Regions from separate parts of the Homo sapiens genome. Here all the other regions are linked to region 1. Evidence: promoter capture Hi-C in 16 types of primary human blood cells and fetal thymus (Javierre and others, 2016). All regions are on one chromosome and are shown on one strand. Each heading gives the region's core, a stretch centred on a gene start or on the middle of the fragment in contact. The rest is flanking DNA. Distances are from core to core; before and after follow the strand shown. Region 1 holds the start of ZNF420 (zinc finger protein 420). Region 2 holds the start of LOC107985304 (a long non-coding RNA gene). Region 3 holds the start of LINC00665 (long intergenic non-protein coding RNA 665). Region 4 holds the start of ZFP14 (ZFP14 zinc finger protein). Region 5 overlaps ZFP82 (ZFP82 zinc finger protein). Region 6 holds the start of ZNF607 (zinc finger protein 607).

Evidence for each region. Contacts are between HindIII fragments. The CHiCAGO score rates a contact against its expected background, and 5 or more counts as called.
Region 2: a contact is called between a fragment that was not itself captured here and the fragment with the promoter of ZNF420 in region 1, in 3 of 17 cell types (fetal thymus, naive CD4 T cells and M0 macrophages). The highest score is 6.3, in fetal thymus.
Region 3: a contact is called between the fragment with the promoter of LINC00665 here and the fragment with the promoter of ZNF420 in region 1, in 4 of 17 cell types (total CD4 T cells, total CD8 T cells, M0 macrophages and 1 more). The highest score is 7.3, in total CD4 T cells.
Region 4: the fragment with the promoter of ZFP14 here is called in contact with the fragment with the promoter of ZNF420 in region 1 in 13 of 17 cell types (fetal thymus, naive CD8 T cells, total CD8 T cells and 10 more); the score reaches 16.0 in fetal thymus.
Region 5: a fragment that was not itself captured here is called in contact with the fragment with the promoter of ZNF420 in region 1 in 2 of 17 cell types (activated CD4 T cells and naive CD4 T cells); the score reaches 6.6 in activated CD4 T cells.
Region 6: the fragment with the promoter of ZNF607 here is called in contact with the fragment with the promoter of ZNF420 in region 1 in 1 of 17 cell types (M2 macrophages); the score reaches 6.2 in M2 macrophages.

The regions. Positions count from the first base shown.
Region 1 is chr19:37,076,722-37,080,813 of GRCh38, forward strand. ZNF420 (zinc finger protein 420) reads left to right here and starts at 1,712. Exons shown (of 5, transcript NM_144689.5): 1 at 1,712-1,849; 2 at 3,624-3,667. LOC105372390 (a long non-coding RNA gene) reads right to left here and starts at 1,476. Exons shown (of 2, transcript XR_001754095.2): 1 at 1,377-1,476. RefSeq lists a silencer at 1,168-1,457 and an enhancer at 1,548-1,787. The HindIII fragment of the contact is 14,557 bases long and covers 1-4,092 here.
Region 2 is chr19:36,234,399-36,238,490 of GRCh38, forward strand. It overlaps ZNF146 (zinc finger protein 146), which reads left to right. Exons shown (of 4, transcript NM_007145.3): 4 at 1,261-4,092. The coding sequence starts at 2,043. The coding sequence ends at 2,921. LOC107985304 (a long non-coding RNA gene) reads right to left here and starts at 1,354. Exons shown (of 2, transcript XR_001753933.3): 1 at 1,186-1,354. It also overlaps a transcript of ZNF565 not described here. RefSeq lists an enhancer at 1-178 and a silencer at 1,976-2,176. The HindIII fragment of the contact is 221 bases long and covers 2,030-2,250 here.
Region 3 is chr19:36,329,737-36,333,828 of GRCh38, forward strand. LINC00665 (long intergenic non-protein coding RNA 665) reads right to left here and starts at 1,982. Exons shown (of 6, transcript NR_038279.1): 1 at 1,711-1,982; 2 at 517-756. The HindIII fragment of the contact is 13,687 bases long and covers 1-2,219 here.
Region 4 is chr19:36,376,939-36,381,030 of GRCh38, forward strand. It overlaps ZFP14 (ZFP14 zinc finger protein), which reads right to left and starts at 2,263. Exons shown (of 5, transcript NM_020917.3): 1 at 2,225-2,263. RefSeq lists a silencer at 2,370-2,459. The HindIII fragment of the contact is 12,200 bases long and covers 1-4,092 here.
Region 5 is chr19:36,412,095-36,416,186 of GRCh38, forward strand. All of the region lies in intron 1 of ZFP82 (ZFP82 zinc finger protein), which reads right to left. Among named protein-coding and RNA genes, the nearest start is that of ZFP82, 4.5 kb to the right of the region's middle. The HindIII fragment of the contact is 3,525 bases long and covers 517-4,041 here.
Region 6 is chr19:37,717,412-37,721,503 of GRCh38, forward strand. It overlaps ZNF607 (zinc finger protein 607), which reads right to left and starts at 2,350. Exons shown (of 5, transcript NM_032689.5): 1 at 1,858-2,350. RefSeq lists silencers at 1,852-1,941, 2,002-2,111. The HindIII fragment of the contact is 3,190 bases long and covers 1,630-4,092 here.

The DNA of each region.
Region 1 (4,092 bases), core at 462-2,961:
CATAGTATTCCATGATGTATATGTGCCACATTTTCTTAATCCAGTCTATCATTGATGGACATTTGGGTTGGTTCCAAGTCTTTGCTATCGTGAATAGTGCCGCAATAAACATACGTGTGCATGTGAATTGGACATAATTCTTGCCTGACTTTGACCCACTCTAACTCAGTGCAATTTAATTATCTATATTTCACATAGCTATGCCTGATCACACACACAGGTTCATTCCCTCAAGAATTCTGATCACCAAATTTGCTATTCCAGTCACATTACCGGTAAGAGATCAATGTATTTGATATATGGTCTTGCAAGACCAAGTTTTATTAATTTTTTTCCCTCTGAAGGAGTGGTGAAATTATACTCTATCTTCTCTGTGCTGGAAGTTCACAAGTTTTTGATTATTCAAAAATCATAAAAGGCCAAGAGGTCTTGAAGTAAGTAAAAATAAGTTCAGGTTTACCAACAAACTCTACAGCCTTAAGTTACTTTCTGCCGGCCAAGGTTTTCTCATCAGAAAATGAGGACAAGTGTTTGACCTAGAATTTGGGAAATCTGACTAGTGCTGTACTGTGCTAAAATTCACTCTTCTTATGTATAACGTTGTTTTATTATTTTATTAGTTGATGGCCTCTCAACCGTACCCAGTAATAAGAGAAACTTTACCCTCTAATTAGAAAATAATGGATATCTACTTTTGGCCTGCTGTGGCAGAGGAAAAGGCAGTTACCCTAGGACTGGTTTTGAAATAATCTTTCTAAAAACAAAGAAAAAACTACGTTAATTTTGGATTCTTCCCGATAACACATATATTTGATCCAATAGAAAAATGATGTCTAAATTACTTGTCAGATAAATTGATTATCTTTTCCAGATTATTACATTACTATTTAAGGAAGAAATAACTTGGCCATAGTATTTTCACTGTCACACACGATCACACACAGCTCATTTGCTCTTGGCACCCTTACAGACACTGAAATACAAGCACAAAGAAAGCACGTTTATATAACACAGATCACCAGTTACTCAATTACGGCCACACACAAAAAAGCAGATATACATACAGATACCCTTCATAAGCAAACCACAATAGAGATCTGTGTAAAATCGTCTTACTCTGTTAGACGATTCTACACAGTTATAAAATCCCATTACTACGCAGCTTAAAGTACAAATCACCTCACACCCCACAGCAGGAAGAATCACACACAGGCAGAAACACAACCATACACACCCGGCCACGGAAAGACTCTCAGTCCACCTGGCATCTCCCATTGTCACACACACCCCAAGGGCCTGGGAGGGCACACACAGGGTCCTCTGCAAATCCGAGGTTCCGGCGGGTCCCCGCACCGGCCCCAGCTCCTCCCCCGCACCTGCCTGGCCGGCGGGTCCCACCCTCTCTCCTGCCAGGGGTAGACCCTGGGACCACTCAGCTCGCTCTCGCAGGCCCTGAGCGTCTGACGCCTGCGCACTGAGCGCGGGCGGGCGGGCACTCCCAGAAACCTCCGGGGCGCTGCAGGCGGGACAAGCAGGTTCCACAGGCCGAGCCCACGAGCCCCTCGAGGGGTGAGCGGCCCGGGCCTCCTGGCGTTCTGGCCGGCTAGCCAAGCGCTGGACTACATTTCCCAGAGGCACGGCGTCCGGAGCGCTGGACTACATTTCCCAGAGGCACCGCTCCCGGAGCGTAGCTTCATTTCCGTTAGTTTGCGAGATTTGGAGGCCTCGCGTGGGGAGAGGGCCGCGTCTGTGGAGGAGCTTGGCTCCGCACCTGCTGGGCTGGCGAACCCGAAATTGGGCTTGGAACCCGGGAGCCAGATCTTGGACCCTGAACTGCACCTCTGTCAAGGTAGGAGTGTCCGGGATGCCGGAGCGGACACGCGCGGAGAAAGCGTCGCTGGGGTTACTCGTGTGGCCGTGTCTCCGGTTTTGTGTGCAGGCTACAGCCTGCCTGGTATTGGCGACTGCCTGTGCATACACGACTGGACGTGTGTGGCTGTGGTTTTGTGTATGAGCATTTGTATGAGTGTGAGTTGTGACTCTGAGGGTGTTTGTGACTGTTTGCTTACCTGGCTGGGATATACTTATGTGACTGTGATTTTATGTGTGCCGCGTGTATAATTGGGGTTTGCCTGTGACTATGAAGTGTGTGACAGTTGTGACAAGAGTGTTTGGATGTTCTTGTGTCACTTTGAGGTTGTGTGTAAACCTGATATCGTGGGATGGATTTGCCAGTAAATTTAAGGTGTGTGACAGTGTTGCTGTGACACGGTGTTTATTACCGCGTGTTTCCCTGATTTCGTACTGGGTTGGGTGACTGTCTGATTGTGTGTGACTGTGGGGTTGTGTGTGCTGTTTTCATGACTGTGTAAAGAGACTAAAATTGCAGCTTTGAAAGGGTGTTTTTGGCGGTATGTGTCTCTGACAAGGTGCTTGGATGTAATTATATGCCTTGTACTTAATGGGATTTTGTTTGAGACAAGGTGGTCTAACAATGTAGCATAATTGGGTGATTGTGCCTCTAGCTGTGTAACTGTGGAAATGTGATTATGTGTGACTTTATGTGGCCATTTGTATATTCTGTGACCTTATGGGGGTTTAGTCCAGTACAGAAGTAAATTTCTTTTTGGTATTTCTGGGGTTCATTTGGGGCTGAGGTCTGCCTATGGATTGTGAGTCCCATGTGGCTCTGTGCTCCTCCCATGTGGCTCTGAGGACTTAAGGACTTTTTGATTTGACCACAGTGGCTGCCCTTTCATCCATGGCCTGTATTGCTTCATTTCTGTATCCATCCTCGGTTCACCTTGGGAAATGTAGTTACTTACGAGTTCACGACTTCTTCCCTGCGTCCTCTTGCCTTATAGCCTTAAGGGGATTGGGTGCAGGGAAGTGGCAAGAAGTAAGGAAGTCAGACATTTGGACACCTGAGTGATGAATAGGAGTTATTTGCAAGTTACAGACCTGGTCTTAGGATGAGAATTTTAGGGCTGATAATACCTTCAAGACAGCCACTGGATGCTGTGCGCGGTGGCTCACATCTGTAATCCCAGCGCTTTGGGAGGCAGAGGCGGGTGGATTACCTGAGGTCATGGTTTCACCATGACCTCTACTAAAAATACAAAATTAGCTGGGCGTGGTGGCGCATGCCTGTAATCCCAGCTACTTAGGAGGCTGAGGCAGGAGAATTGCTTGAACCCGGGAGGCGGAGGTTGCAGTGAGCCAAGATCAAGCCACTGCACTCCAGCCTGGGCAACAAGAGTGAAACTCATTCTCTAAATAAATAAATAAATAGGCCACTGGAAATATAATGGGACTCCAGGAGTGGGAATAGTTTCAGAGGGAGTGCTTTAGGAGACAGCCACCCAGTTCTGAACCTGAAGCACCCCACTGCAGGACTGTCTCCAGTGTACAGCTTTGAATACAGAAATAAATTCAAGCCCAAGACAGCTGTGACCTGGCCCTTCTTTCTGATACAGAAGGTAGAAGACTTATTCTAGTCTCCTCCTGACTTTTCTTTATGTTAAATGAGATTAAGAGGATGGAGGAAGAGGGTATGTTATAATTTAGCATATTCCCCAAGAAAGGCCTAATATCTCATTCCATTTTTCTTTTTCTGAGAGTAGAGCCCAGAGGAGAAAGAATGGCTGTTTCAGTAGCAATGTCCAAGGTGAGTATTTCCTCTTTGTTTCCTGAAATACCTTTGTTATTACAGGACATAGACATTTTTGTTTTCTTTTTGAAATTTCTTGCCTTCTCAAATGATAGAGGGGCAAGGCAATTTTTGGTAGATTGAGAGCAAAGAAAATGTGCCATTAATCGGGATAGATGCTTCCCCAATAGTGGTTAAATTTACGAAGAATGGATTTGAGACTCATGGATTTAAAAAGGGGAAGAGAGAAATAGCTCTATTGTGTTATTTAAAAAGGGAAAGAGCTCTATTGTGTTATTTCTGATACAGCACCATTTTGATTTTTTAACTTTTTTTAGCTTGTTATGGAAAGTTTCAAATGTACACAAAAGTATAATGAATATGCCTAGCTTAAAAACGATCACGGCCAGGTGTGGTGGCTCATGCCTATAATCCCAGCACTT
Region 2 (4,092 bases), core at 890-3,389, 840 kb before region 1:
TTTCACACCTTAGAAGATTAACCATGTTGTCCTAATATTAGACTACCCAGTCTATGTTCACATTTTTCCAATTGTCCCCAGAATGCCTTCCATAGTTTTTTAAAATTACAGAATGTAATCAGGGTTCAAGCTTTGCATCTGGTTGCTCGCCACCACGCCCGGCTAATTTTTTGTATTTTTAGTAGAGATGGGGTTTCACTGTGTTAGCCAGGATGGTCTTGATCTCCTGACCTCGTGATCCGCCCACCTCGGCCTCCCAACGTGCTGGGATTACAGGCGTGAGCCACTGCGCCCGGCCAGCCAGCATCTTTTGTCTTCAGCTGCAGAATGGTGCTGCAGGTCTTACCATATATGTGGGTTTAATCTCTGATTTCCGTATAGCAGCTCATTCCTGTCATCTCATTTGCTGAATGCCCCTGAGCTCTGATTAAAATTCTGCAGGGGATAAACTTCCATTTCATATGAAGGTGTGTCCAGTCCTTTGTTCTCGTGACTGGACAGTGCATGTTCAACTGTTCCTTACACTTTTTTTTCAGCCACCATCCTTTATTCCTTTTGAATAAGGGAATTTGTACCATTTTCTCCTTATAATTTTAATGGGGTTTTGGGAGGAAGCACTTGTTGGTTGATCTATTCCTTTTCTTAGAAAGATGAGCATTATTTAGCCAGGTATGGTGGTGCACACCTGTAATCCCAGTTACTCAGGAGGCTGAGGCTAGAGAATTGCTTGAACCCAGGAGGCGGAGGCTGCAGTGAGCCGAGATCGCACCACTGCACTCCAGCCTGGATAACGAGCGAAATTCCGTCTCAAAAAAAAAAAAAGAAGAAAGAAAGATGAACATTATTTTTCTTCCTTAGCATCCCAGGTAGACTTTCTAATTTTCATCTTTTTCTTCTATTTGGCAATTCTTCATTATTTGTTATACAACTTGCTAAATTCTGAAATGGAAAGGTTATTTTTCAAGAGTACTTTCAGCTTTGTGGACCCATGAATGTTAATTTTCTACCTAGATCACCTCAAGTAGGGTTCCCTTCTCATAATTTAGTTGGAAGCATTAATAATATAGATTATTTTCATATTGGGAGATGGGCTACCAGAGTTAATCTCAAAAAATTTTATTGCTAGTAATGGGAAAATTAACAAATAAAAGTGATAGTAATATAAAGGTAAAATGAAGGGCTTACCATATGGCAGCCATGGTTCTGGGCACTTTATGAATTTAACTCCTTTGTGCTATGGTTCTTTGTACTCCATTTTAGAAGAAGCCTGAGAAGATGATGCACAGATAGAGAGGCACCAGGACTTGAGAGGCACCAGGACTTGGGAGGCATGTTGATCCATCTCCAGGAAAGACTGAGAAAAAGAGCGTTGAATATAAGAAAAAATACTTCCTCTGTTCTCAGATCGTATTTGTTTTAAGGCCACACCTTTTTGAAGTTTTCAGTTTGAAACACAACCTGGACTGAAATCATGAGGGAGGTTGTGTAGGAAAGAATCATCAAGGGACTTAGTTGGGAGCTTCTCTACCACAGCTTACTCCTTATGGTATTAACCCCCTTTAAGTGTAAATGTCTTTGGTTTAAAACGTTTGTACCTCATCTGTTACCAGAGTGTTCATACTGGAGAGAAACCCTATGAATTTACTGAATGTGGGGGAACTGTTACTCATATGTTGCATTTCGTCGAACGTGCAAGTCATGCTGAAGAGAAACCCTGTGCTTCTAAGGAGTATTGACAAGCCCTTAGCTAGATGACAATCTCATTGAGAAGCAGAAAATTCATGCTGGAGAGAAACTAGTGAAGGTAGCAATACTTCATTGAATATTAGAAAATTTTTCTAGAGAGAAAGCATTGAATATACTGAGTATGATAACATTTCCTCTCAAACCTTATCCCTTACTCTGCATTTGGGAGATCATACACAGAGAAGCCTTATAAATGTAAGAGATGTGGAAATATCTTCAGCCAAAAGTAAATCCTCACTCATCAAGAAATTTTTACTGGAGAGAAACCTTGTGAATGTGGGAAAGCTTCCATTCAGATGTCACACCTCAGCCAGCAGAGAATTTACAGTGGGGAAAACCCCTTTGCCTGTAAGGTATGTGGAAAAGTCTTCAGCCACAAATCAAACCTCACTGAGCATGAGCATTTTCACACGAGAGAGAAACCTTTTGAATGTAACGAGTGTGGAAAAGCCTTTAGCCAAAAGCAGTATGTCATTAAACATCAGAACACCCATACTGGCGAGAAGCTTTTCGAATGTAATGAATGTGGAAAATCATTTAGCCAGAAGGAAAACCTCCTTACGCACCAGAAAATTCACACTGGAGAAAAACCTTTTGAGTGTAAAGATTGCGGGAAAGCTTTCATTCAGAAGTCAAACCTCATCAGACACCAGAGAACTCACACAGGAGAGAAGCCCTTTGTATGTAAGGAGTGTGGAAAAACCTTCAGTGGCAAATCCAACCTTACTGAGCATGAGAAAATCCATATTGGAGAGAAGCCTTTTAAATGTAGTGAATGTGGAACAGCCTTTGGCCAGAAGAAGTACCTCATAAAACATCAGAACATTCACACTGGAGAGAAACCCTATGAATGTAACGAATGTGGAAAAGCCTTCTCTCAGCGAACATCACTTATTGTACATGTGAGGATTCATTCAGGTGATAAACCTTACGAATGCAATGTTTGTGGAAAAGCCTTCTCTCAGAGCTCATCTCTCACTGTGCATGTGAGAAGCCATACAGGGGAGAAGCCCTATGGTTGTAATGAATGTGGGAAAGCTTTCTCTCAGTTCTCAACCCTTGCTCTGCATTTGAGAATACACACAGGTAAGAAGCCTTATCAGTGCAGTGAATGTGGGAAAGCTTTCAGCCAGAAGTCACACCACATTAGACACCAGAAAATTCATACTCACTAAAAACCCCATGAAAGCCTTGAAAGTGGGAAAGCTTTCATTAGAAATTTGCACCTCATCATGCCCCAGAAATAATCCTTCTGAAGCAAAGCACCACGAATGAGGTTAACTTTAACAAGTACTAAAAACTTAAGGGACACCAGAAAATTTGTACTGAAGAGAAAGACATGCATATGATTAAAACCCTGTGTCCAACAGAGAAACCTGCAGCAGAGATAATGGTGAAAGTTTAGGCACATTTTCACTAAAAGTGGGAACAGAAAATGGAGGCCTGTTTTTTATTGCTACCACCATAGATCTGGAGATCTTCGCCAGTAACAAGAAAAATTAAGTTGTAAATATTGGAAAGGAACAGACAAAAATAGATGACATGGTCATCTACAACTAATATTAAGACTCCTGTGGTATTGATTGAGCAGAGCAGAAGAGATTTCAAAAAAAGACCTATGCATTTATTAGAATTTGGAATATGATACAAGTGGCATCAGGAAATGAGGAAATAATGGAACTATTTTTTTTAAGTGGAGGTAGTTTGTTCTCCAAGGGGGAAAAATAGACCATGAACTATACACAAAAGTGAATCCAGAGATTAAAAACAGAAATATGGAAAAGCTATGTACTAAAATGCATATGACCTTGGGAATAGGGAAACATTCCTTGGAACAATTTGAGAAATACTTAGCGGTTCTACTTATGAGTATGAATGCTCAGGAAATACGCACTAGGATATTTACTGTGGCTTGATTTGTAGTAGCCAAAAATTAGAAACAACTGAGAAAGCCCATCACGAACAATATGGGAAATTCTTATGTAATACTATATATCTGTAAAATGCAACAAATGAAATCCACATGTATTAACAGAAAGATCCCAGAATTGTTGAGGGGGGATCAAGTTGCAGAATGATACAGATAGTACAATGACTTTTTTGTAAATTTGAATTAAAAGTTTCCTCATAAAACTCAGTACTATCTATTGGTAATGGATGCATATATGTATGTACATGTTTTTGAAACGGATTGGAAGGATACAGACCAAACTCTTGATAGTGGTCACCTGTGAAGAGTGGAGAAGGGAAAATAATGAGTGTGGGAGGTGGGATGGGTATTGGTTAAAGGGGACTTCAGCTTTTTATATAAACATCCACTTCTCTTTCAAAAGACTTCAAGTAAAT
Region 3 (4,092 bases), core at 732-3,231, 750 kb before region 1:
CTCTTAGCATTGACAGGCCGGTATAAACCCCCGGCTCGGATCGAGCTATGCCGGATGCTGCCTTAAGCCTTATGAGGTCGCCACGGAACCGCAGGTGAGGGCCCACTTGAACTCCGTAGCTTTCGCCGTGGAGCTACAAACTGGAGGACAAGCGCAAGCCCTTGTCCTCCCCCATTCATTCACCATTCACACAGAGTTTATAACAGTTTTTCTTTTTTCTTTCCCAGAGATTCTCCAAGAAACCTGAACAAGGAAAGATTAGAGATAGAAAAAGAGAGAGAGAGAGACCAGTCTGCCAGAAACCAGGACTCAGTCCCCCAGCATCCTGGGATGTGGACTGACTCAAGGGATGGCCCCTGTCAGGGCCACTTCCCTCCCAGACAGAGACACAGAGGCGTCTAACAGAAAACCAGGGCTCTACCCTCTAGCATCCTAGAGAAATGGGCAGAGTCAAAAGAGGGACACCCTCATCAGGGTCGCTTCCCTCTGCCAGAACCAAAGTCAAATCTGACCTACCTGACCCCGGGGTCAGCAGTTGAGGACTCAGAGGTGGAATTTTTGTGGGCACCCACATGGTAGTCGATCCGCTGTCCTCCGGAAGACGGTCACCCTTTGGGGACCTGGAAATTTTTTTTTCAGGTGGCACTCCCCCCTACAAGCTGGCTGTCCTTCCGGGGGAGCACACAGCGGGCCCGGCTCTCGCCCGGTGACGTTTCTCCCGGTGACGTTTCTCGCTGGGGCCTCCAAATGTCGTACCTGAGCGAGTTAGAGAAAACGCCACACTTTGAGACAAATTAAAAGTCCATTTATTTAGCTGGCCGCCAAGAGATGGCTAATGCTCAAAATTCTCTCCGCTCTGAAGAAGGGGCTAGATCTTCTTTTATACTTTGGTTTAGAAAGGGGAGGGGAGGTCTAGTTAAAACAATTTTACAGAAATAAAGTAAGCAAAAAAGTTAAAAGGATAAATGGTTACAGGAAAGTTAATAGTTCCAGGTGCAGGGGCTTTAAGATTATTACAAGGTGATAGACGCGGGGCTTTTGGGCATAATCAATCGGATGAATTCCTCGGAACTGCGGATATAGCTTGCCACAGTATCTTAACAGTTAATTGCATTCTTGGATGTGCTGGGAGTCAGCTTGCACAAGTTAAGTCCTTGAGGAAGGGGCTGCCAGTGAAAGAGCCAAGATGGAGTCCATCTGGCGCTCTTAGCTAAGGGAGAGTCAATTCAGGTGGAAACAAGGCTAGGTGATTTAAGGAAAGGGAGAGTCTAAAAACAGGGTTAGTAAAAACCAGGTTGGGCATTACACTACTAAGATATCAAAACCAGGAACTTACTTCCTTTAAAACAATTCCAAACTAACTCGCTGTGCCTTACACAGAAATTTCCCCCAAGAAATATGGTTTTATAAAGCCTGAGAAGTTGTTGCTATTAGGACAAACACCAAAACTAAAAATTGGTTTAATTAGCAACAACAAAATTCCATTTTAACTGGCTGTCCTTATCAGAGACAGTCCACTAAATAATACAACTGGCAAAAAGTGAGATTTTGTAAAGGTTGGGGTGCTTTATTATAAACATAACATAAACCAGGAATGTATTTTAATAAACCTCAACCTGCGGGTCACTCCCTCCCAGGCGTGCAACAAAACACCTGCCTAGAAATCAAAAGGCGTTTTACCCGAGTGGGCTGAAAAAGCCCCGTTTTTACCTTTAATCTGGAGACAATACGGGTCAGAGGTCAGGAAACTACATCAGCGCCAGTGCGAGCGCCCACGAGTCCGGTGGACGGATGAGAAACGGCCGGGGGGCAGCCTGAGTCCCAGTTCCCGCCGTGGCAATGGCCAATTTCCCACCCGTGGACGCAAAAGGCCAGGACTCCACGCTGCTGACCCTCCAGCGTCCCATGTCCGGCAGGCACGTGGCCGAATAGCCCAAGACTGAGGACTCACACTTCCCACTTTGCACCTGGAGGCCACCTGCAGACCAACCTTGCGCCAGGCTTCCGGAAATGGGAGGGCGGGCTTCCGGAAACGGCGGCCAATGGGAAACGTGATCAGATGTTACTAGGCAGACAGTCCGTTTCCAGGCAACACAGAAGAAAGGAACGCGCTCAGTCAGCCTCAAATAGACGGAGATTTCAGCCAATGGATGTGCAGGTTCCCTCCACATTAGCCAATAAGAAGTGCTTGGGGCCTACCTGCCTACAAGCACAGCAAAAGCTTTCCTGCGCATTTTTGCGCTGGAATGGCTACCTGCCGCGCCAAATCAAAATTTACAATCACCCTTGGTGCTGTTTCCTGCACTTTCTTGGAGATTTGCACCAGGCGCTGGAGACCCTCCCACCTGGCCCATGCCTGCCACCCGGTGAACACCAAGACCCAACCTTCTGCACCACCAGTCTTGTTGTCAGCGAACAGGCTAGTAAATTATTGAAGGGGTGGCCTGCCCCTCCACACCTGTGGGTATTTCTCGTCAGGTGGAACGAGAGACTGAGAAAAGAAAGAGACACAGAGACAAAGTATAGAGAAAGAAAAGTGAGCCCAAGGGACCGGCGCTCAGCACACGGAGGACCTACAGGGACACTGGTCTCTGAGTTCCCTCAGTATTTATTGATCATTATCTCTACCATCTCGGAGAGGGGGATGTGGCAGGCCAATAGGGTAATAGTGGGGAGAGGGTCAGCAGGAAAACGTGAACAAAGGTCTCTGTGTCATAAATAAGTTTAAGGAAAGGTGCTGTGCCTTGATGTGCACTTATACAAACATCTCGGTGCATTAAAGAGCAGTATTGCCGCCAGCGTGTCTCACCTCCAGCCCTAAGGATGTTTTCTCCTATCTCAGTAAGTAGAACATACAATCGGGTTTTACACCAAGACATTCTATTGCCCAGGGACGAGCAGGAGACAGATGCCTTCCTCTTACCTCAACTGCAAAGAGGCCTTCCTCTTTTACTAATCCTCCTCAGCACAGACCCTTTTCGGGTGTCGGGCTGGGGGATGTCGGGCTGGGGGACAGTCAGGTCTTACCCTTCCCATGAGGCCATATCTCAGGCTATCACATGGGGAGAAATCTTGGACAATACCTGGCTTTCCTAGACAGAGGTCCCTGCGGCCTTCCGCAGTGTATTGTGTCCCTGGGTACTTGAGATTAGAGAATGGTGATGACTTTTAACAAGCATATTATCTTCAAGCACTTTTTTAACAAAGCATAGCCCTAAATCCATTGAACCTTGAGTCAACACAGCACATGTCTCTGTGAGCACAGGGTTGGGGCTAGGGTTACAGATTAACAGCATCTCAAGGCAGAAGAATTTTTCTTAGTACAGAACAAAATGGAATCTCTTATGTCTACTTCTTTCTACATAGACACAGTAACAGTCTGATCTCTCTTTTCCCCACAGAAGGGAAGGGAGGGAGGGAGGGAAAGAAAAAGAAACCTTAAGCATTTTTTACAGATGAGGGTTCTGCTCTCCCTTAGTTCAGCCATGCTGTGGGGGAAGGGGAAGGAGTGTGGTAAGATGGCAGAGGAGGAAATAAAATATGGATGGCTTCTGCCTTTTCAGTTCTTTTCCTCATTTCCTGGCTTACTGTCCCTGGTTTCTGACTGCTTTGTGGTGAAGCTTCAGAATTGGAGAGAAAAAGAGGCCAGAATTGGTGGCTTATGCCTATAATCCCAGCACTTTGGGAGGTCGAGGCAGGCAGATAACTTGAGGTCAGGTTATAAATGTTTAATACCTAAAATGATCAATACCTAAAAAAAAAATTTTTTTTTTGAGAGGGAGTCTCATTCTGTCACCCAGGCTGGAGTGCAGTGGCGCGATCTCGGCTCACTGCAACCTCTGCCTCCTGGGTTCAAGAGATTCTCCTGCCTCAGCCTCCCGAGTAGCTGGGATTACAGGTGAGCACCACCACGCCCAGCTAATTTTTGTATTTTTAGTAGAGATGGGGTTTCACCATGTTGGCCAGGCTGGTCTTGAACTCCTGACCTCAGGTGATCCACCTGCCTTGGCCTCTCAAAGTGCTGGGATTACAGGCGTGAGCCACCGCACCCGACCGATACTAAACTATTTTAAGAATCCTGAAAAATCAATA
Region 4 (4,092 bases), core at 1,013-3,512, 700 kb before region 1:
CGACTGTCACTGTACTAAACTGCATCTCATGAGACCTGATAAATACGTGGCCTGAAACACTCATGCTGTCAAAAACTTCAAGCCACTTTCCAAATTTCTACTGTCTTCCCTTCCCTTCTAATAACCCCTTCCCTTGTTAACACAGACCTCTCCACTAAAAACCCCATCGTATTGTCACTCCTTAAAAGCCTCAAAAGCAGAAAAGATCCTGTCGCCAATCAAACCACCTCCTTTCCCTGCTTTTGAACTCAGGGCGGTGGGGATCAAAGAGACCTAGTGGGTAATTCCATCTAAACTGTAAACTCCTCAACTAATCACCATCGAATGAAAGTTCTACGTGGTGGCTCACGCCTGTAATCTCAACACTTTGGGAGGCTGAGGTGGAAGAATTCCTTGACTCCAGGAGTTCAAGATCAGCCTGTGCAACATAAGGAGACCTCATTTCTACAAAAAAATTTAAAAATTGCGCGTGGGACCACGTGCCTGTGGTCTCAGCTACTCAAGAGGCTGAGGTGGAAGGATCGCTTGAGCCAGGGAGGTCCAGGCTGCAGGGAGCGAGATCACTTCACTGCACTCCAGCCTGAGGGACAGAGTGAGACCCTGTCTCTAAAAAAAAAAAAAAAACTTAAGTAACAAAATAAAGCTCTGCAGTTAGCTTCTCTTCAGGAGGTTTACTTCCAGACCATCCAAATGATTAGAAAGAGGCAGCTCATAAGAGAAACTAAATTACTGCCAAATGCTCATGTCAATACCTACTGGAGGCCGGGTGCGGTGGCTCATCCCTGTAGTTCTAGCTACTTGGCAGGCTGAAGCAGGAGAATCCTGCTTGAACCCGGGAGGCGGAGGTTTCAGTGAGCACATCGTGCCACTGCACTCCAGCCTGGGTAACAGACCCAGACTCCATCTCAAAAAATACAAAAAAAAACAAAACAAAACAAACCTACTGGAAAGGGGTAGGAATTGGAATCTACCTTCATCACCCCATCATTCACTGGGAAGGAAGGCCAAAGCACCAGGTCAGTGGACAGGACATTTCAGGGGTTAAAGTCTAACTAGCTGAAGATTAACTGGAACAAGCCCGCATAGTCTGACAAAATCATATCTATTGACTGGCAGAAAGGGAGAAAATTCCACAGGAAGGGTTGGAATAGAATGGACGAGAGAGACGAGAAAAGCTCTTTCGTAAACGGTTGAGTTCCAGCTGAAAGATTCTAAGGAGGATCTAATGACAGCTGCAATCTGGAATGGCTGCTGTTTCCGAGGTGAGATTAGGAGAGGCAGGGATTAATGAGATATTGAATGCAATCATGAGTGTAATCAAGAGGGTATCCCCAGTAATAAAATGAAAACAGCAAAGCAAGTCTAGAACATCACTGGTAAGAAAACTGTAATCTCTCAAAGAGGGAGTCATTATGCCATTTTACAACTACTGCACCACCTGGGGAGAAATCATGTTTTCTATTAATTTTGCAACTGGCTTTATCTGTCTCTTCCTTCCTAGCCTGATTAATGACAGAGCTGCTTCATTGTTCAGTCCGAGCTGATTTTCATTCCACAGAAGAGGAAAGCAAATGCCCCCACGCCCAGAAAAAATAAAAATTACACTTCATGGAACAAAACGGAAACACAAACTCATCTGGATGTTGACTTGTCTATATGCAACAGCAATCATTTCCTCCTCTCCCCGCTGCCTTCCTAAAGAACAGCAGGATTGGGAAAGGAGACGGGAATCTTGAGACCGCGGGCCTTTCCTGGAGCCGGCCTTGGCTGAGCAGGACACACCCCCGCTAGCGCACTTGCTCCCTCCGTCTACTGCGCGCAAAACCCGATGGAAATAACAGGGAGCCTGGAATAAAGCTGACCCTTTCCCGTATCAGAGCGAAAGGCCAGGTACACGAAGACGGGGCTGGGATCTGTCTCCGAGTTCCCCGCAGTTTCCATGGGAGGGAGCTCGGGTAAAGCTGTGCAATCTGCAGTTCTTCAGACTGCGTCTTTTTGTTTGGGGGCCTTCATTCACTCCGGGGTTCCTGTATCTAACTCGGAGCCATTCCGGGCCGCTGGACCTGGGCGGCTCTGAAGCGAGAAGGCAGAGGACGCAACAGGGCACCCGGCGCCCAGTCAGCGCCACAAACTCCACAGCTACTGCCTCCTGGCTCACACTGAGGTCTGCGCCGCCCCCGCGCCACCCCCGCGCCCATTGCCTCGGTGCAAGCGACCAACTCACCTCTCGGAGCCGACACCAGCAGCGAAGCCGGAAAGAACTGCGAGCGGAGGCCTGTGGGAAATGTAGTCCGCCGATGGGAGGGACTGGTTCCAGCCCCAACGGGCTGCGCGGAGTGCGCATGCGCGGGGGCCGGAGCCCCGGGTGCGCTCGGGGCGGGAAGGCCCTCCGCGCTGCGTGGGGCTGAGGCGAGCTCGGGCTTGCGTTTGCTTTTGTCGCTGAGGAAGACTTTTATTTGTTTATTTTCTTGAGACAGGGTCTTACTCTGTCGCCCAGGCTGGAGTGCAGTGGCGTGATTAGAGCTCACTGCAGCCGCGACCTCCCGGGCTCAAGCGACCCTCCCACCCGAGCCTCCAGAGTAGCTGGGACTGCAGGCGCGCGCCACCACGCCCAACTCATTTTTTAAGTTTTTATAGAGACCAGATCTCCCTATGTTACCCAAGCCGGTGTCGAACTCCTGGGCTTAAAAGATCCTCCCGCCTGAGCCTCCCAAAGTGCTGGGACTACAGGCGTGAGCCACCAGGCTCAGCCGCGGAGGATTTAGAAAGAAGTTTTGGCACCAGCAGATGCCTAATATGTGTACTAAACACCTACCAGTTACTCACTGCATACACCCAAGCAAGGTGTGGGCACACATCAGGCATGCAATGAAAATACTCTCAAAGCCCACCAGAACCTGGAGCAGGACGTAAACCTAGAAAGGTCGCTCGTGCTCACTGCCCTCTCCCTTTCTCCCACTCTGTCTCTGTCTCTGTGTGTGTGTGTGTGTGTGTGTGTGTGTGTGTGTGTGTGTGTGTCTCGTATCTCCTGCAGTTGTGAATGTATTGTTCTACTAAAAATACAAAAAATTAGCCGGGCGTGGTCGCGCGCGCCTGTAATCCCAGCTACTCAGGAGGCTGAGGCAGGAAAATCGCTTGAACCCGGGAAGCGGAGGTTGCATTGAGCTGAGATCCGCCATTGCACCCCAGCTTGGGCAACAAGAGCGAAACTCCGTTTCAAAAGAAAAAGACTAACTGGAGAGGTCTGTCTCCAATGAGACTGAATTTGTCCTGTCCTGCGTTCCTTCAGGAAAGAAATGGGATAAGCCCACCAGGGACCACCCTGAGGCATCTTCTGTATCCCAAATTCTTTGATATATTAGTTAATACATGAAAGAATTTGTTCTTTCCTTAAGAATATAAAACTTTAGAAGATATTTGAAAATGCCTCGGCAATCTGGTTTCATTTTGCAAACAATAGGATATGCATGAAATAGGAGATAAATGAAAAATCTGAGCTACTTTATAACTACTAAGAAGGTGGCCAGACGCGGTGGCTGACGCCTATAATCCCATCACTTTCGGGGGGCCGAGGCGGGTGGATCACCTGAGGTCAGGGGTTTGAGACCAGCCTGGCCAACATGGTGAAACCCCGTCTCTACTAAAAATACAAAAAAATTTAGCTGGGCATGGTGACGCACACCTGTAGTCCCAGCTACTCGGGAGGCTGAGGCAGAAGAATCGCTTGAACCAGGGAGACGGAGGTTGCAGTGAGCCAAGATCGTGCAGCTGCACTCCAGCCTGGGCGACAGAGCAAGACGCCGTATCAAAACAAAAACGAAAACAAAACAAAACAAAAAAAACTACTAAGAAGGCCGAAGGCCCAAAGTATTTTTTTAATTCAAAATCACGGTCCTATGTACATGTTTACAATTAAATTTATGTAAGGAAATCAACACTCCATTAAAAAAACAATAAAAAGAATTATTAAAATAGCTCCTCCATATTCTCTGTTTTGACTAAGTTTTTTTTTTTTTGAAACAAAGTCTTGTTCTGTCACCCTACCTGGAGTGTGGTGGCACAATACTGTCTCACTGCAACCTCAGCCTCCCA
Region 5 (4,092 bases), core at 1,029-3,528, 660 kb before region 1:
AGTGTGCGTGTGTATTAATCTCTAAGTGCTAAGTTTTAGAAAATACACAAGGACATATAAAATATTCAAGATATATAATCTCTTAGAAAAATAAAATGAACATTATTAGGACATCTGTAAAGTATACATGCAAATCAGCACAAAGAAACACTGACAGGCATCAATAGATATTGATCTTGATTTCCTTTTCGCTTACATTTATTTCATAATTCTACATGACCATATATACTTGAAACATATATTTTAACTTTGCATAGTGGAAAGCGTTCTTTAAATAGGTTAAAGAGATAGTTTTTAAAGTAGTCATCCCTTGAACTTGGAGAAAAAAACTCAATATCCTACAAGCAGCTTCTATGTTTTTACTGGTTTTGTTGATTTCAGCTCCCAAAATCTGAACTGACTCTATGATTTCTAAGTGTGTTCATGTATGTCAGAGTTCTGCCTATATAAACATGGCTAAACATCTTCAATTAATGCCTTGTTTCACTGCTGCTACTTCTCATGACTTCTTGACCAAGCTTTTGTTTTGTTTCTGAAAGAGTTGTTTTAGCCATGAGGCCCACCTAGGAGCTGCTGAATCTTCTTGTGCTGTTCATTTGCATCAACATCATGAAAATAAAAACTATAAGGCACATGCTTATTACATAAAATCCATTACCCCACAGGAACCCCATGAGTTTGGTATTATTTGGTCGTGACCTGACAATGCTTGCTACAATCAGCTGTCTGCTTCCCATGACCTCTCAAGCCATGCCACCTGAATTCTTCAATGACTTTACCTCACCTATCTCAGTGTTATTCTTGCATAGGCTTATCTACCTTGAAAGACAACAAACAATGTAAGGATATCAACCATGTCATTTTGGTCACTGTATTTCCCCCAAGGACTGGCACAGGATCTGGCATATTGTGAGTACTTTATAAATGTCTCATAATTCAACCCAGAAATTCCACTTTTAGGAATTTATCGTTAGGAAATATTTGTAAAAGTATACAAAGATGTATTGCAAGAGAGTTCATCAAAGAATAATTTATTGGCCAGGCATAGTGGCTCATGCCTGTAACCAACACTTTGGGAGGCCGAGGTGGGCAGATCACTTGAGGTCAGCAGTTTGAGACTAGCCTCGCCAACATGACGAAACTCCATCTCTACCAATAATACAAAAATAAGCTGGGCGTGGTGGCAGACACCTGTAATCCCAGCTACTTGGGAGGCTGAGGCAGGAGAATCACTTGAATCTGGGAGGCGGAGGTTGCAGTGAGCTGAGATTGCACCACTGCACTTCAGCGTGGGCAACAGAGTGAGATTCTGTCTCAAAAAAAAAAGAATAATTTACGACAACCTGAAATCAAATACCTAACAGTAGGCAACAAGTTGAATAAATGATGTTCTACTATATTATAGCACATTATGCAATTATTAATGATGGCATTGGCCCACATTAATTAAAGAAGGAAGATATTCATGATAAATTACTAGCTATGGGAGTCAGACTAAAAGAATATGTACAATGTTGGGAGGTGGCAGACTCTCAGTTATTAAAAATACAGGCTTTGTTATCAAGATTCAGGATATGAACAGAGCTCTGAGAATTATTAACTGTGAGAATTTGGACGCATTAATTTTCAGTGTCTCAGTTTCCTCAGATATAAACTAAGGAATAAACAGTACCTACCTTATAGGGTTGTTGTGAAGGTTAAGAACATAATACATAAAGCACTTAAAATGGCTTACTGTAAGCACTAAATTCAGTGAAAAACATCACATACCCCTCATTCCACTATTTTAAAAATTATCTTCAATAATTTTTTTTTTTTTTTTTTGAGATGCAGTCTCGCTCTGTTACCCAGGCTGGAGTGCAGTGGCAAGATCTCGGCTCACTGCAAGTTCCACCTCCCGGGTTCAGGCCAATCGTCTGCCTCAGCCTCCCGAGTAGCTGGGACTACAGGTGCCCGCCACCACGCCCGGCTAATTTTTTGTATTTTTAGTAGAGACGGGGTTTCACCATGTTAGCCAACATAGTCTCGATCTCCTGACCTCGTGATCCGCCCGCCTTGGCCTCCCAAAGTGCTGGGATTACAGGCGTTAGCCACCACACTGGCTTCAATAATTTTCAATTTAAAAATTTGGTATTTGCTGATAAATTATCTTTAACAATTTCAATAGCAGTCCCTTTCTCTAAAGGGATTTTTGAGATTTTTGAGATTTTTCAGCATTGCTCTTAAAACATTGATAAATGTTAGAACTAGGCTTGAAAATGTAATTCTACTTTTTTTTTTTTTTTTTTGAGACACAATCTTGCTCTGTCGCCAGGCTGGAATGCAGTGGCATGATCTCAGCTCACTGCAATCTCTGCCTCCCGGGTTCAAGTGATTCCCCTGCCTCAGCCTCCCAAGTAACTGGGACTGCAGGAGCATGCCACCACACCCGGCTGATTTTTTGTATTTTAGTACAGACAGGGTTTCACCATGTTGGCCAGGATGGTCTCGATCTCCTGACCTCGTGATCTGCCTGCCTCGGCCTCCCAAAGTCTTGGGATTATAGAGATGAGCCACCGCACCTGGCCTATGTAATTCTTCTTAATAATGTTATCAAAAAAGGATTCACAGAAATCAAAAAGTAGAGCAAGGCCCCTGTTACTTTCCATCCCTAGTAGCTCCAAAGGGACACCATTCCATATCATAAAACCAGCTCAAGAATTTTGCTTTGATAAGGTATCATATTAAATACTTTTTTTTTTTTTTTGAGACAGTTTCGCTCCTGTTGCCCGGGCTGGAATGCAATGGCAAGATCTCGGCTCACTGCAACCTCCACCTTCCGGGTTCAAGTGGTCCTCATGCCTCAGCCTCCCAAGCAGCTGGGATTACAGGCATGCACCACCACGCCTGGCTAATTTTGTATTTTTAGTAGAGACAGGGTTTCACCATGTTAGTCAGGCTGGTCTGGAACTCCTGACCTCAGGTGATCCGCCCACCTTGGCCTCCCAAAGTGCTGGAATTACAGGCGTGAGCCACCAGGCCCAACCTCTTTTTCCTTTTTCAAACAAAGTGTTGCAGAGTCTTTGTCTCCTTAAATGATCAATTGTTGTGATTCTATTTTGGAAAACAAACACATGTGCACAAGTGCACAGAAAAAAATGGAAAAGCAAACATTAGAATAGTAATATTTATTGTGGATGGTGAGACTACGGGCAACTTAAATTTTATTCTTATAGAGTGAAGATGACTGGGTGGTAGGGGATGGAGAAAATCTGTTCTGAATAGTACTAAATATAGTTGGCAGCTTAAACCAGGACTTTCTTTTTTTTTTGGAGACTGAGTCTCACTCTGTCACCCAGGCTGGAGTGTAATGGCAGGATCTCGGCTCACTGCAACCTCTGCCTCATGGGTTCAAGCAATTCTTCTGCCTCAGCCTCCCAAATAGCTGGGATTACAGGCAGGCGCCACTGTGCCCAGCTAATTTTTCTATTTTTAGTAGAGACAGGTTTTACCATATTGGCCAGGTTGGTCTCAAACTTCTGACCTCAGGTGATCTGCCCACCTCAGCCTCCCAAGTGTTGAGATTACAGGCGTGAGCCACTGCGCCCAGCCAATTAAACTATTTTCATACACATAGAATTAAAAACAGAGTTGTGAAGAAGGAATATCTTTTAGTTGTTAAGAAAATTGTGATTCTATAAGCCTGTGACATGAGTGGGTTTTGGGAAAATAAACAACAGTGTGGCACAAATAAGTAACACCCATCAGTTCTTTAACTGTTCTTCATCAAAACGATGGGCTATTTTCACTCTCAAGATTCTTCTATGAATGAACACAATCAAGCGACATTCCTAAATTCAGTAAAAGTATACCAAAGCAGACAGAACAGTGTGGTAAACAACAGTTTATCTTTTTTTCTCCACTAAGAAACTAGTTTTATATTATGTATAATCCTTGCAAAATGTTTTATAAATCTCTAGCTTATTAAGAGCGATTCATACATGATTAAAGGTTTTGTGAGTCATCTTGTTCAAAACTATTGCTTAGACAACATCGATCACAAGCTTTTTTTCCTTCTCATAATTAACAGTATTTATTAATGGCAAAAAGCTG
Region 6 (4,092 bases), core at 1,100-3,599, 640 kb after region 1:
CCTGACCTCATGATCTGCCCGCCTCGGCCTCCCAAAGTGCTGGGATTACAGGCGGAAGCCACTGTGCCAGGCCCAAAATTCCATTTTTAAAAAATGAGCTGCGGCTGGGCGTGGTGGCTCACGCCTGTAATCCCAACACTTTGGGAGGCCAAGGTGGGTGGATCACCTGAGGTTGGGAGTTCAAGACCAGCCTGACCCACATGGAGAAACCCCGTCTCTACTAAAAATACAAAAAAAAAAAAAAAATAGCCAGGCATGGTGGCCCATGCTTGTAATCTCAGCTACTCAGGTGGCTGAGGCAGGAGAATCGCTTGAACCCGGGAGGCGGAGGTTGCAGTGAGCAGAGATCGCACCATTGCACTCCAGCCTGGGCAACAAGAGCGGAACTCAGTCTCAAAAAAAAAAAAAAAAAAAAAAAAGAAAGAAAAAGAGTTGCATATATAGTTTGAGAACTGTGATCCACCACTGTAACTCTAAATAGTGTTAAACATTAGATCACAGCTATTTATCCTGTGACAGATTCTTTACAAACATAAATCTTATTATTTGTATAATATCCAATCCCTTGGACGCTGTATAATTTTCTTAACCATTCCCATAATCTCGTTCATTAGTTTTCTGCAAAACCATTCAAAGGTATAAAACTCTTTGATTCCAGATCTAAAACCTGAGTCTAAATAATTTGGATTATGGACATCCTAGAAAAATGCAAATTAACAAACATGTACAGGAATTCTTTATAGAATTTCAGGGGGTTTGTGATGTCCCTTATGCCCATAAGGGCATTGGTCTACAGACAGTACACCAATGACCGAGAATTCCTATTTTGGAAAACTTAAATTCTGGCTCACTTCCTTCACATCACGGCTAAGTTCATATTCTTGTTGCTTTTGATCTACAGAAATCCAAAACGGAATATCCAAAATTGCCTCATAATACTTAGCGCTTATGTTTCCCCCCTCCAAGGCTGCAGGCGCGTAATTTCATACACACGACCAGAAGGAAGTATGTTGGATGGAACCTGCAATCATCCTTCACTGCAGGTTCTTGGGGTCAGAATTCAAGGCCGTGTTTGTTAAACATGTAAATGAAACTCCAAGAACCGGGAGGTGGGGGCGGAGTAACAACCCTTTTCAGGAGGGAATCCTACACTCGAAACTGACAAACCCTGCCAGACCAAATTTTAGTCAGGCTACTACACCTTCAGCTAGGCCCATCTGTACACTTCACTGTAAAATCTGGCTATAGCAAAGAACTATTCTAAGTCAGTTTAGCAAGACCCTTTCGCCTCCGTATCTTCATCCTCCACCGTCCCCCAGGTCTCTCTCTCCAGAAATAATCCTGTTAGGTGCGTTTAGTCAGAATCTTCCTTAACCCAGACATTTCCTCTTAGTAATTTCTCATCCAGTGATCCCTAACCTTCTTGGCTATAAATTCCCACTTGTTCATGCTGAATTCGGAGTTGAGCCCAATGTCTGTTACCCACTGCAAAATCTCACAGCCGGGATCCCAATACCTACCACCATGGTCCTGAATAAAGGGTTCTTTGCATGCTTTAACAAGTGTCACTGAATACTTTTTTATTTAACAGAATCTATCATACCTTTCTTAAGGGCAATTACTCTTCTAAGCTTCTCATCCTATCTGTTTCTTCTCACTGGAAATCTTCATCTAAGACTCAGTATCTGATTTCCCATTGGGACCATTTCTCTGTTGTAGTCGTACTAGGCTGAGGAAGGCACAGGAAGCAGCAGGGAACCTGGAGCCAAGGGTCAATAGACCCCACAGAGCCCAGCGAAGCACGCTTTACAAAGGACACACACGGCATGTACAGGTCACACAAGGTCGACTACGCACCCCTCACAGTCCCGCAACTGCACCCACGTCACACAGGCAAGCCGGTCCTGTCGCCGCTGCGCGGTCTCTCACGCTCCCCGCCTGTCTCCTAGAGACGGGCCCCTCCTCCGCAGCTCCAGCACCCTAGGGCCTGAGGAGGCGGGAGACTCGCCCGGCCCGCCTGGGGGCCTCCGCGCTCTGAGCGCCTCCTGCAGCCCCACTCTCACCGCCACGCAGGGTACCACGCGGGCGGCGGGCTGGGGCTGCAGAGGCTCCCGCAGTGACCTGCGCCGCCTTCTTCAGGTGGAACCAAAAGGTCCCGGAACCGGAGCCAGGGGTCCAAGTTTTCTCCGTTGCCTTTGTAATATGTAGTCCAAGCCAGAACAGTCAGGACCGCAGGTACCGGTGAGAAATGGAGTCCAGAATCCTAAAAACCTACGAGAAATACGGCAGCGACCACTTGGACCGCGCCTCCCACCCACCGCTCGAGCCCCGGAGACTTCTGGGAGTGGCCGCCTTGCCTCGAGTGCGCATGCGCAGATCGGCCACTACTGGGCCCCTGGCCTGAGGCTTAGGGTGGAGTTAGTGCGTTCTTAGGGCCAGTAGGAGGCGAGTCTGAGTAGAAACTGATCCAGGTAGCCTCGGAAGGGATCACCTGCTGGATGGGTGTGAGCTCCTCAGGGTGGGGCGCCGAAACCCTCATGGCTCCTGAGGTAGAGCCGGCCTCCTTGGTAACACATGGGACTGGGACTTTTAATACCACCCGACAGGCCCAGCTTGTCTCGTCAAGCGCTAAGTAAATGGACTCACGTCCTATATGAGGGTTTGAAGTTCCATCACATTCTTCAATACATGACATTATGTTCTTCATCTTTGGACACGAATATATTTGACTAAAAATTTGACTAAAAAATCATCTGAAGAAATAACTGCTAAATAGTTTTATTATTTTTGTTCTGGAATAGGCTTCTTGAAGATAAAATAAGAAATTTAAAAAATTTTTTTGATCCTTCATGTAATACTTTGTAAATCTTCATAGTTATTTAGAAGCATCCAAAATTTCCAAATGGTAAAAAACGAATAAGAAAAATTTTTAGGTAAGTAAATTTGGGGGAAATATTTACAACAGCTAAAACGGACAAATATTTAATAGTCCGAATTTCCTGTTTCTTTGGCTTAATAAAATATTGATGAATACAGGCTGGGCACGGTGGCTCACGCCTTTAATCCCAGCATTTTCGGAGGCCAAGGCAGGAGGATCAGTTGAGGCCAGAAGTTCAAAACCAGCCTAAGAAACATAGTGAGACACCCCTCTCCTCCTCCCAAACTCTACCAAAAATGAAAGTTAGCCTGGTGTGGTGGCACACGCCTGTGGGCCCAGCTATTCCAAAGACAAAGGTAGGAGGATCAGTTGAGCCCGGAAGTTCAGGCTTCAGTGAGGTATGATGGTGTCACCGCACTCTGGCCTGAGCAACAGAGCAAGACCTTGTCTCAAAAAATAAATAAGTAAAATTAATTTAAAAATAAAAAATATTTGTCTATACCCTAAGAGGAAAAGGAACAAAACTAAAAAATCACCATTCAAAAATACAAATAGTCAAGGAAAAAAAACTATTAAAGTTACAATTTAAGAACTTATTGATCACTTTTTCTTCTCTTAATTAGTTCTTGGATTTGTTGCTCCTGAATCTCCTGAATAATCTCTCAGAAATACCACACATAGATCAATGGATTAAATTGACTCCACATATTATTTTCTTTTTCTTTTTTCTCTTTTTGAGACGGAGTTTTGCTCTAGTTGCCCAGGCTGGAGTGCAATGGCACGATCTTGGCTCACTGCAACCTCCACCTCCCAGGTTCAAGCGATTTTCCTGCCTCAGCCTCCTGAGTAGCTGGAATTACAGGCATGCATCACCATGCCCAGCTAATTTTGTATTTTTAGTAGAGACAGGGTTTTACCATGTTGGTCAGGCTGGTCTCGAACTCCCAACCTCAGATGATCTGCCCGCCTTGGCCTCCCAAAGTGCTGGGATTATAGGCATGAGCTACTGCGCCCGGCTCCACATACTATTTTCAACAAGGATACCAAGGCATTTTAAGGAAGGGAAGAGTAGTCTTTGTTGAAAAGACTGGAATTAGAGATGCACATAGAAAGGAATGAATTGAGTTCCCTGCCTCTCACCATATACAAAATCAACTCAAAATGGATCAAACACCTAGGTGTAAGACTTAAAACAGTAGAACATTTAGAAGGAA